2 separate regions of the Homo sapiens genome follow, and region 1 is linked to region 2. The links are contacts of gene promoters, found by promoter capture Hi-C in blood cells and fetal thymus (Javierre and others, 2016). All regions are on one chromosome and are shown on one strand. Each heading gives the region's core, a stretch centred on a gene start or on the middle of the fragment in contact. The rest is flanking DNA. Distances are from core to core; before and after follow the strand shown. Region 1 overlaps ITPR1 (inositol 1,4,5-trisphosphate receptor type 1). Region 2 holds the start of EGOT (eosinophil granule ontogeny transcript).

The links. The method cuts DNA at HindIII sites, captures the fragments that hold promoters and counts their contacts. A CHiCAGO score of 5 or more calls a contact.
Region 1: a fragment that was not itself captured here is called in contact with the fragment with the promoter of EGOT in region 2 in 1 of 17 cell types (naive B cells); the score reaches 5.7 in naive B cells.

What each region holds. Positions count from the first base shown.
Region 1 is chr3:4,670,445-4,674,657 of GRCh38, forward strand. ITPR1 (inositol 1,4,5-trisphosphate receptor type 1) reads left to right here. Exons shown (of 62, transcript NM_001378452.1): 20 at 285-482; 21 at 2,692-2,943; 22 at 3,758-3,899. Among named protein-coding and RNA genes, the nearest start is that of EGOT, 79 kb to the right of the region's middle. The HindIII fragment of the contact is 1,227 bases long and covers 1,828-3,054 here.
Region 2 is chr3:4,749,830-4,754,429 of GRCh38, forward strand. It overlaps EGOT (eosinophil granule ontogeny transcript), which reads right to left and starts at 1,761. Exons shown (of 2, transcript NR_004428.1): 1 at 1,117-1,761; 2 at 1-181. The region is part of intron 44 of ITPR1 (inositol 1,4,5-trisphosphate receptor type 1); the gene reads left to right. RefSeq lists an enhancer at 4,449-4,558. The HindIII fragment of the contact is 1,839 bases long and covers 935-2,773 here.

The DNA of each region.
Region 1 (4,213 bases), core at 1,191-3,690, 79 kb before region 2:
CCCCTACCCACTTAGATGCCAGTAGCACCTCTCCATTTCGGTTGTGACAACCAAAAACCTGTCCAGAGACATTGCCTGGTGTCCACTGGGGGCAGCAGCACCATAGTCGAGAACCACTGGGTTACAGTATATGAAGATGTTAATGTCAGGCTCTCTGCGGCTCTGCCCTTGGGGGAAATACAAAACAAAAAGTGTCTTTCCATGTGTCTTTATGCTGAAAGTAAAGCTAGATCTCAAAGTATTTTTAAAAATAGTAACTTTTCCCTCCTCCTCTTGTTTTCTAGGTTGGTTCTTTCTCGTTTTGAATTTGAAGGTGTCTCTTCCACTGGAGAGAATGCTCTGGAGGCAGGAGAAGACGAGGAAGAGGTGTGGCTGTTTTGGAGGGACAGCAACAAAGAGATTCGCAGCAAGAGTGTGAGGGAATTGGCTCAGGATGCTAAAGAAGGGCAGAAGGAGGACCGAGACGTTCTCAGCTACTACAGGTGCGTGGGACACGTGTGGGGCTCAGATTGGGGTGCCCCAAAACAGTGGCACTTAGGAATTTGTTGCTCGTTTGTTGATTACTTCAAGGAATCACAAGGAGTCATCTTGTAAGATTGTCTAGAAAAAAGCCAGATGTGTGTTTTAGGAGTTTGGAGTGTAAGATTTCAGTTAGTTGACATCTGGATGTGGCTGGTTCCCAAAAAGGATGAGTGCTTGCCTCAGTCCCTGGTGATAGTTTATCCTTCAGCAGCATGGCCCATAGATATGGTGGTAGGTACGTAAGAGGCAGGCTGTGGGGTCACATCCCTACCTCTCCGCTTACCAGTTTTTTGACATTGGCCAAGTTTGATTTTATGCTCTAATTTCTTTATCTGCAAAATGAAGGTGATAGTGCCAATCTCACCAAATGTTTATAGACAGAGACAGAAGATGTGTGTGTTTGTATACACATATATCTACACATTCATCCATGTATCTTTCTATAACTACACAAATATATAATAAAAAGCATGTACTTACACTAATACTTCCAATTCCATTCCAACACCATAGGATTTATTCTAGCCTTCACCTTTTCCATTTCATGACTCCCTCCAGCTGCCACGATTCCCTGTATGTTTACCCATCTGCCCGTTTCCCTGTGTGTACCTGTCTCACCTCTGCCACCCACCTCCACGGTCCCCAGTGTCTCCTTGGCTCCAGCTGTAAGACCTGCCAGTCCTGCCACCTGAAGGGAAGGGAAGGGGAAGAAAGAAAGGAAGTGAACCAATTAATACTTTTAAAAGAAAAGGAAAGGGAAGATAAAGCAAGGCTTTTATTATTTTTTAATAAAATAAATAAAACTGCAGATAAAATGCCTTTTCTTGCCTCCTGTATTCTGTTCTTTCATTCATGTGTGATGTACGCATCCTATCCACATTCTCTGTGTGCTGCATTTGTATGCATCTGTAAATCATATGTAGTATTTTATCTCTACTTAAAATTTTATATAAATGGGACTGTACTCCAAATACCATTCTAAAACTTGCCTTATTTATTCAATACGGGTACTGAAGCCATATTGAATATATCTGCGTTAATAGAGATTAATCCATTTCTGTAATTTGGACTGTTGGATGATATTCTGTTTTATTGATTTATCACATTTTCATCGCTGTTTGATATTTGATCACATGCTGCAGTTCTTCATGTCAGGAAACATCTTCATTCAAATTTTTCTGAGTATATGTATGAATTTCCATTCCACACTGGGAGGTGGGCTTGGAGGATATTCATATTTTAAGCTTTACTAAGCAATTCTAAATTGGATGTGTCAGTGTACACACCCACCAGTTGTAGACGACAAGCTTTGTTTCTTCATGTCTTTGTTAACCTTGAATATCATGATGCTTTTTAATTTTTGGTAATTTTATAAGTGTGAAATAGACTCATGTCTACACTTGCATTTCCCCGACATCTAATGAGGCTGAGAATGTCTTCAAATCATGATTATTAGAAATACATAGAGTTTTTAATTCAGAAGGCAGTATTTTGAAAGCCTGTGGCTTTCTCGTTATTTCACATTTCAAGTATGTTTACTCTTTCAGTGTTTGATGAATCTTCTCCCAAGTGAATGAGAAAGAGTGCCTTAATTGGTCAGGTTCCAGTTAACAACATTCACTTGCAATTGGATGAAGATGAAAAGTGAGGAGTCTCCTACTTTTGTAAATGAAATGTTTTTTTACACGTGTAGGAATTAGAGTGACTTACATGATATAAGATCTTTAAAATGTTATAAAATTTCTAATTAGGCTGAATATGTGTGATATCTTGAACATTTCCTACATGGTCTTTACTGTATAAAACACAGCTGAAGGGAAAGAAATAGACAACCATCTTAGGCCTTAGCATTCCCCCCGTTTATTTTAAAAAGTAAACATTAAGGACCTAGTGGAATTAGGTCGTCACATAATTGCTCCAACACAGCTGGATAGACATGTGTTCCTGTTGGCTGTCAACCCACACTCTACTGCACAGCTTGAATAGTTCTTTTATCTGCTTGGTACCAAAGCCAAAATCCTGGTATACAAGAGCAATTTAGGGGTGTTGATGTATGAGTTTAGTTGGCCAAATGTCACTCCCATGACAGTCAGGGCTGCCCAGACGACCCTTCATTCATCCTGAATGATTTCTGGAGCGTGAGCTGTGTGCCCTTGTTCCTTCCTCTAGATATCAGCTGAACCTCTTTGCGAGGATGTGTCTGGACCGCCAATACCTGGCCATCAACGAAATCTCAGGCCAGCTGGATGTCGATCTCATTCTCCGCTGCATGTCTGACGAGAACCTGCCCTATGACCTCAGGGCGTCCTTCTGCCGCCTCATGCTTCACATGCATGTGGACCGAGATCCCCAGGAACAAGTCACCCCCGTGAAATATGCCCGCCTCTGGTCGGAGATTCCCTCGGAGATCGCCATTGACGAGTGAGCCTGGCACCTGAAAACCTCACTTTACATTATTCTGTGCGGCAGTAGATAGCCCCATATGGTCTCATTAAATCTTAGAAGAAAGATGAAGTGTTGGTTTTTTCTTCAAGCTTAAAATAAAATTAAGTGGATGGCAAATATTTTTTTCCTCAAGAATGTGAAAGATGGCATGATTATGTTTTTGGTTTTTGTTTGTTTGTTTGTTTGTTTGAGATGGAGTCTCACTCTGTTGCCCAGGCTGAACTGCAGTGGCGCAATCTCGGCTCACTACAAGCTCTGCCTCCCGGGTTCGTGCCATTCTCCTTCCTCAGCCTCCCAAGTAGCTGGGACTACAGACGCCCACCACCACGCCCGGCTAATTTTTTGTATTTTTAGTAGGGACGGGGTTTCACCGTGTTAGCTAGGACGGTCTCGATCTCCTGACCTTGTGAGCCGTCCACCTCGGCCTCCCAAAGTGCTGGGATTACAGGCGTGAGCCACCGCGCCTGGCCCCGATTGTATTTTTTATATCTCATTTATCTCCTCTTTCATTCTGCAAATATTTAAGTGTGTACTATGTGCCAAGCTCAAGAAATATATCAGTGAACAAACTAGAAAGCAATCTCTATGCTAGTTGGTGGAAGACAGACAATAGGCAAGATAAACGACTCAAATATATAGTTGGTGATATATGCTAAGGAGGGAAAAAATAAAGTAGGGTCAAGGGATGCCAAGGGTTAGGGGATGTTGACTTTTGAAGCTGAGTGACCCAGGAAGACCTCTCTGGGAATAACTTGAAATTTTGTTTCCTTTCTTTCTCCTTTCTTTTCAGCTATGATAGTAGTGGAGCTTCCAAAGATGAAATTAAGGAGAGATTTGCTCAGACCATGGAGTTTGTGGAGGAGTATTTAAGAGATGTGGTTTGTCAGAGGTTCCCTTTCTCTGATAAAGAGAAGAATAAGCTTACGTTTGAGGTAACTCATGATGAAATCTTCTATGTGTATTATCTGCCTCTCAGTGGTCATTTTTCTATGGGGCAAATAGAAAATATGTGAGTAGGTTGTGATTTTGGTCATGATGCTCTGGTTTTGTAATGGAAAGGAATTCAGCTTGGTTTTGTTCCAGAATAAAATAAAACGGATACCAGTCACATGGCTTAATAGTAGTTATGGGCTTAAAAGAAATATACAAGGTGACTTGAACCACATAAAATGATAGAACATCACTTTGTGTTAAAACTGACAAGAGAGAAACACTGTGCTTGCAATCTGCCATAGCTTAATCATTT
Region 2 (4,600 bases), core at 511-3,010:
AACCACCCCTAACAAAGACACTGAAGCACCCTGTTCATAAGCCCTGATGGGCACTGGAGGGTCTGGCCAGGTTGGGCTGGATTTCAGGGGACCTGATTTGTGTTTCCCTGTGCAGTGCTCGTTTCCATCACCATCTTTAAGGAGGAGGCCTTTTCCATCCACTGGACTCTTACCATCGTGCCTGTTAAGGAACAAAAAGACAACTGCTTAGGCCTGGAGGGTATGTGGAAACCACCAGTTACCTTTGAATATACCTGTGGTGCTCGAACCTCCTTTAGAAAACCCAAGATGCCATTTTAATGATGCTTTGCTCTTGGGTATCAAATTTACTCCTTAATTTACCTCAGGAGATGTTCTAAGAGGAAGCCACAAGATTCCATACCTGCTGTTGTTGTTTTAGAGCTGGTGGATTTTTTTTTTTTTAATCCGCGGAGGAGGACTTGACCCTGTGGGTTCCTAACTTGGATGGCCATGCAGAGCACCCTTAACTTGGAAATCTATATCCTGCTGTTTAAACTTCAAGATGATTCCTATCTGGATTAAAGTCCTCAACCAGCAGGCCGAGGCAAACTCTAAAGAAAAACAAGGTCATGCTGCATTTTTTTTTGGTAAGCACAGGAATCAACAAAGAGATGTTATATAACTTCTATTTATATCCTCCTTGCTCACTATCTGCAGGCAGACAAGAGTCGCTGAGAAGGGATTTAATGAGCTCTCTGGGTTTGCTCACCTTCCTGAGCTGGTAGGAACCAGCTTGTTCTCAAATGCGTCAGTAAAGAATCTGGCTGTGGGTGGGCGGCCAGGGTAGGTGGACTGCGTTGTTGCTATGGTGTTTTTTAATTCCCCTGTCTCTCAAAGATCTCACTCCCCCCTTCCCTGACTCCTTCCTTTTGCCCCCTTCCTTTCTTTCTTTCTTTTTTTTTTTAAATCTGTAAGCTTCCTTGTTTCTCACACCTACTCATGATTCTTGGAGCTGTCTCCGGAAACAGAATATTTTCCCTCTCCTTCCTAAGTGCTCAGCTCCCCCATTGTGTAGCCCCGGGACATCAGAAGTTGTTTTCTAAGGTGTGTTTTTTCCACCCTCCCTTATTTCTTTTCCCATGATTTTTTTATTACCAATCCCTCCATGAGAGAGACCTATCCTAGGAGTCTTCCATCTTGCCTGATAGAAGTTTTCTCTGGCATATTCCAAATTCAGATTGCTCCAAAACCAGGTGAAGTCTGTTGCTAGTTGGACAGTCGGTATGGCCTGGAGGAGAAGGGCTGTTTGTATTTCCATGCATCCTCCTTTGTCCTCTTGCCCTGGGTGAAGCAATGACGTCTCTGTCTCCTCTAGTGCGTTATAAAATAGAACCGCAAGAAAACAAGAGAATGGGTTTACCCCACAATCATAATTCCTGGAGCTTGGGTAACTCCTGTTACCTGAAGGTTGCAGGTTGAAATGACTCAGCTTGCATTTAATTAAAAAAAAAAATGCTGCCCCATCAGATTCTCAGCAGGGACGACGAATGCACCTTGCTGAGAACCCTATGGCTGCCCAGGGAGTGGCCCCCTGCACCCTGGCCGGCCTGGTGGTGGCCACAGAGGCTTCTGAGATGGCTCTGTGTTGTCCATCACATTCCCACCAGAGCAGAGACACTTAGAAGATGTGAGTAGGGAGGTTAGGATGAAAAGTTCTTAGAAAAGAATATGTAGTTCCATGAGGACAGGCTGAAAAAATTTTTAAAAAGCCAAACCCACCTCTGCCTTGCCCAGAAGTTGTGCAATCCTTAATAGCAGTAGCCTGTTTGAATAATCAGAGGCAAGCTGACTTCCCTTTATTAACTTCTGTTAGAGACATCTGCATAAAATATCCCCGGATTCCAGACCAAGTAGGTAATTTTTTTTTCCCCTCTGAGTAACGGGAGGGACTTTCCCTTTGGAAATCTTCCAGCAGAGTTAACTTCATGGTTGAGACTGTTTTCTCATTATAAGGTGCCAACAGCTAGATTCCTGATGCAGGGACAGTGAAGGCGCCTCATGTACACACTTGGATCCCCTGCTTCCCTGAGAACTGACTTGATGTTCACAGTTGCCTCTGGTTCTTCTGCCTTGACCCTCCTTTTCACGGAGAAATCTATGCCCGCTCACATTTCCTGAGGTCCTCTGAGTTCCTCTTTGAAACTGTCAGAGGCTCTCTCAAAGTTTCTACCAATTTCCTATTCCTGGGTTTTAGACTTTTGATCAAGATGGCTCTGACACTGAAGGGGATAGTCCTGTAAACCCTCTGAAGTCTTCAAGCCTCGTTTTTCCCCTGGAATTCAGGACTTTAAAAATATATATATTTTATTGCTCTTCGAGGAGGATGTGTTGCAGTTGCCCTCACCATATGGTATTTGAGAAATATGTTTTTATTAGCCTCCTTGCAACACAAACCCACAAACTGTTGAGCCCAGAGCTTGTAGCTATCAAGTCTGGGGAGGGAGCCAGGTTTGGAGACGGAAGGTGCACAAATGATCATCCCTCCCGGGCTGTAGTTAATCATGCAAGCTGCTGTGTCACTGGGGCCGGGGTAGTTAACAGTTAACTCGATGGATTAAGGATCCTCAGCCAGGCTGAGCCCATCACAGAGTTACGTGCAAAAACCGGATAAGCCCGTAGAGGTGACAACACCACATCAGCTGCCTTTGGCTGGTCTGCGGTGTGCTGCATATTCCCACTTAGCAGGACTTTGAGCTTTCACATGCAGGCTTCTTCTGGCCATAAAGTTATACTTCAGCTGCCATGGATGCAAAGCTTGGCTTGAGTGTTTCGGAATTGCACCTCCTTCAGGATTATTGTTCATTCATTAATATAGTAAATTTTTTAAAAAGAGAGAAGAGGCCTTACTGTGTTGACCAAGCTGGCCTTGAACTCCTGGGCTGAAGAGATCTTTCTGTCTCAGCCTCCGGAGTAGCTAGAACTACTGGCTTGTGTCACCACAGCCGGCTTAATATAGCAGATGTTTACTTACTGAGCACTCCCTGGGTGTCAGGTGCTATACACATTGGCGTCAATACAGTCAGGGATGAGACCAACATAGCCCCTGCCCTCCAGGAGCTTACAGTCTTGTGGGAGACAGAGCTAGGAAATCAGCTCATCATCAGCTAAATCAGAGCTTCAGAGAAGTGTGATGGGGAAGCAAACAGGCGCCACGAAGCGTGGCCAGGGAGGGCTTCTCTGGGGAGATACCGTTCAAGCTGAGACCCAACAGATGCGAAGAGAAGGAGCTGTGTGAAGAGTAGCAGAGGGCAAGAGTATTTCAGAAGAGGGTTGGCTTGTGCTTGGGATGTTGGAGGAGCTGAGTGAAGGAAGCTAACGCGGTCTACCCCATGGTGGTCGGTCAGGGGCAGAGCTGCGGAAAGTATCTGCTCCACCAGGGTGATGGGCTTGTCATCAAGTCGGGGCTGGATGAGGTGATCTCTGTGGTTCCCGCCGATCCCTAGTCGGTGCTTCTAAAGGGCACCAAGTTGGCTTGGGCCTGTCCCCTGCTTGGATATGCGCTGCCGCCGCCAAAGCCCTAATATACAAAGCAGCTTTACCCAGATGAGTGCTGTGTGATTTCACCCTGCCCTGCTCTAACCGCTTGGCCATCTGTACATCTTACTGTCAGCTGCCAGGGATGCTCTCTGTGGCCGTGTGGAAGTTACCTGGTGGGCCAGCACACAGCAAGATGGGGATGCAGGGTGGGGAGACATGAAGAGTCCCAGAGCATTCTGCTGGGGACCAGACTCGGCTGTACCCGAGAGTCAGTTGAGTTGGGAAGGACTAGGGTTGACTGGGGGTGACTGCAGTCTTCATCAAGGAGGCACTTGCTTTGCTTGATGCTTTGCCACCTAAGCCAGTGTCCTTGCCTCCATCCGGCCTGAGTGGATTTATTTTTTTCGGCTTCTATGGCCAAGTGTCCTTGTCACAGTTTGTGTGGAGAGCAGCGAAGGGAACGTGGCTGGTGTAGACACCCTGCCGGTACTGTGCGGGCTCTCACCTGTTTTCTCTCCTGCACTCCTTGCAATAGAATCTCAAGTGGTTCTCCTCCTCTTTCTCCATTGCAGATGAGGGAACTGAGGATGGAAGTTAATAAATGAGCTGTCCAAACCCACCCAGTTCCTAAGTCACCCCTATGCGTATGTTTCTACCTTGCTAAAGATGCAGGATAGAGATCGCTTTCACTGAGCCGTGTGACTGCACAAACACAGAAAATGGGGGGGGGGTGGCAAGGATTATTCTTGGCATCTGTATAAATTTCAAGTTGAATTCCCTGGGAACCTCGGAGCATTGAGGACAGGAAATGTTGGTTGGTGTTGATTCATTGTCCCTCAGGTACACAGAATGGAAATAAGACCTGGGGAGTTGTTTCCAGAGATCGACTCCCCTGACCCTGCAACTCCTGCTTCAGCCCTCGCTCTCCACGATGCAGATTGCCACCCCCATGGAGGAACAGCACCCAAGTCACTGCCAGGTCCTCAGCACTGGACCCTCCTCCCGGGAAGAGGACTTGATGATAGAATTTTCCAAGCACCTCTTGCATCTGTCTTTTCAGGGTTCATGAGACAAGGTGGAGGTCTGATGAGAAAGTCTTCAT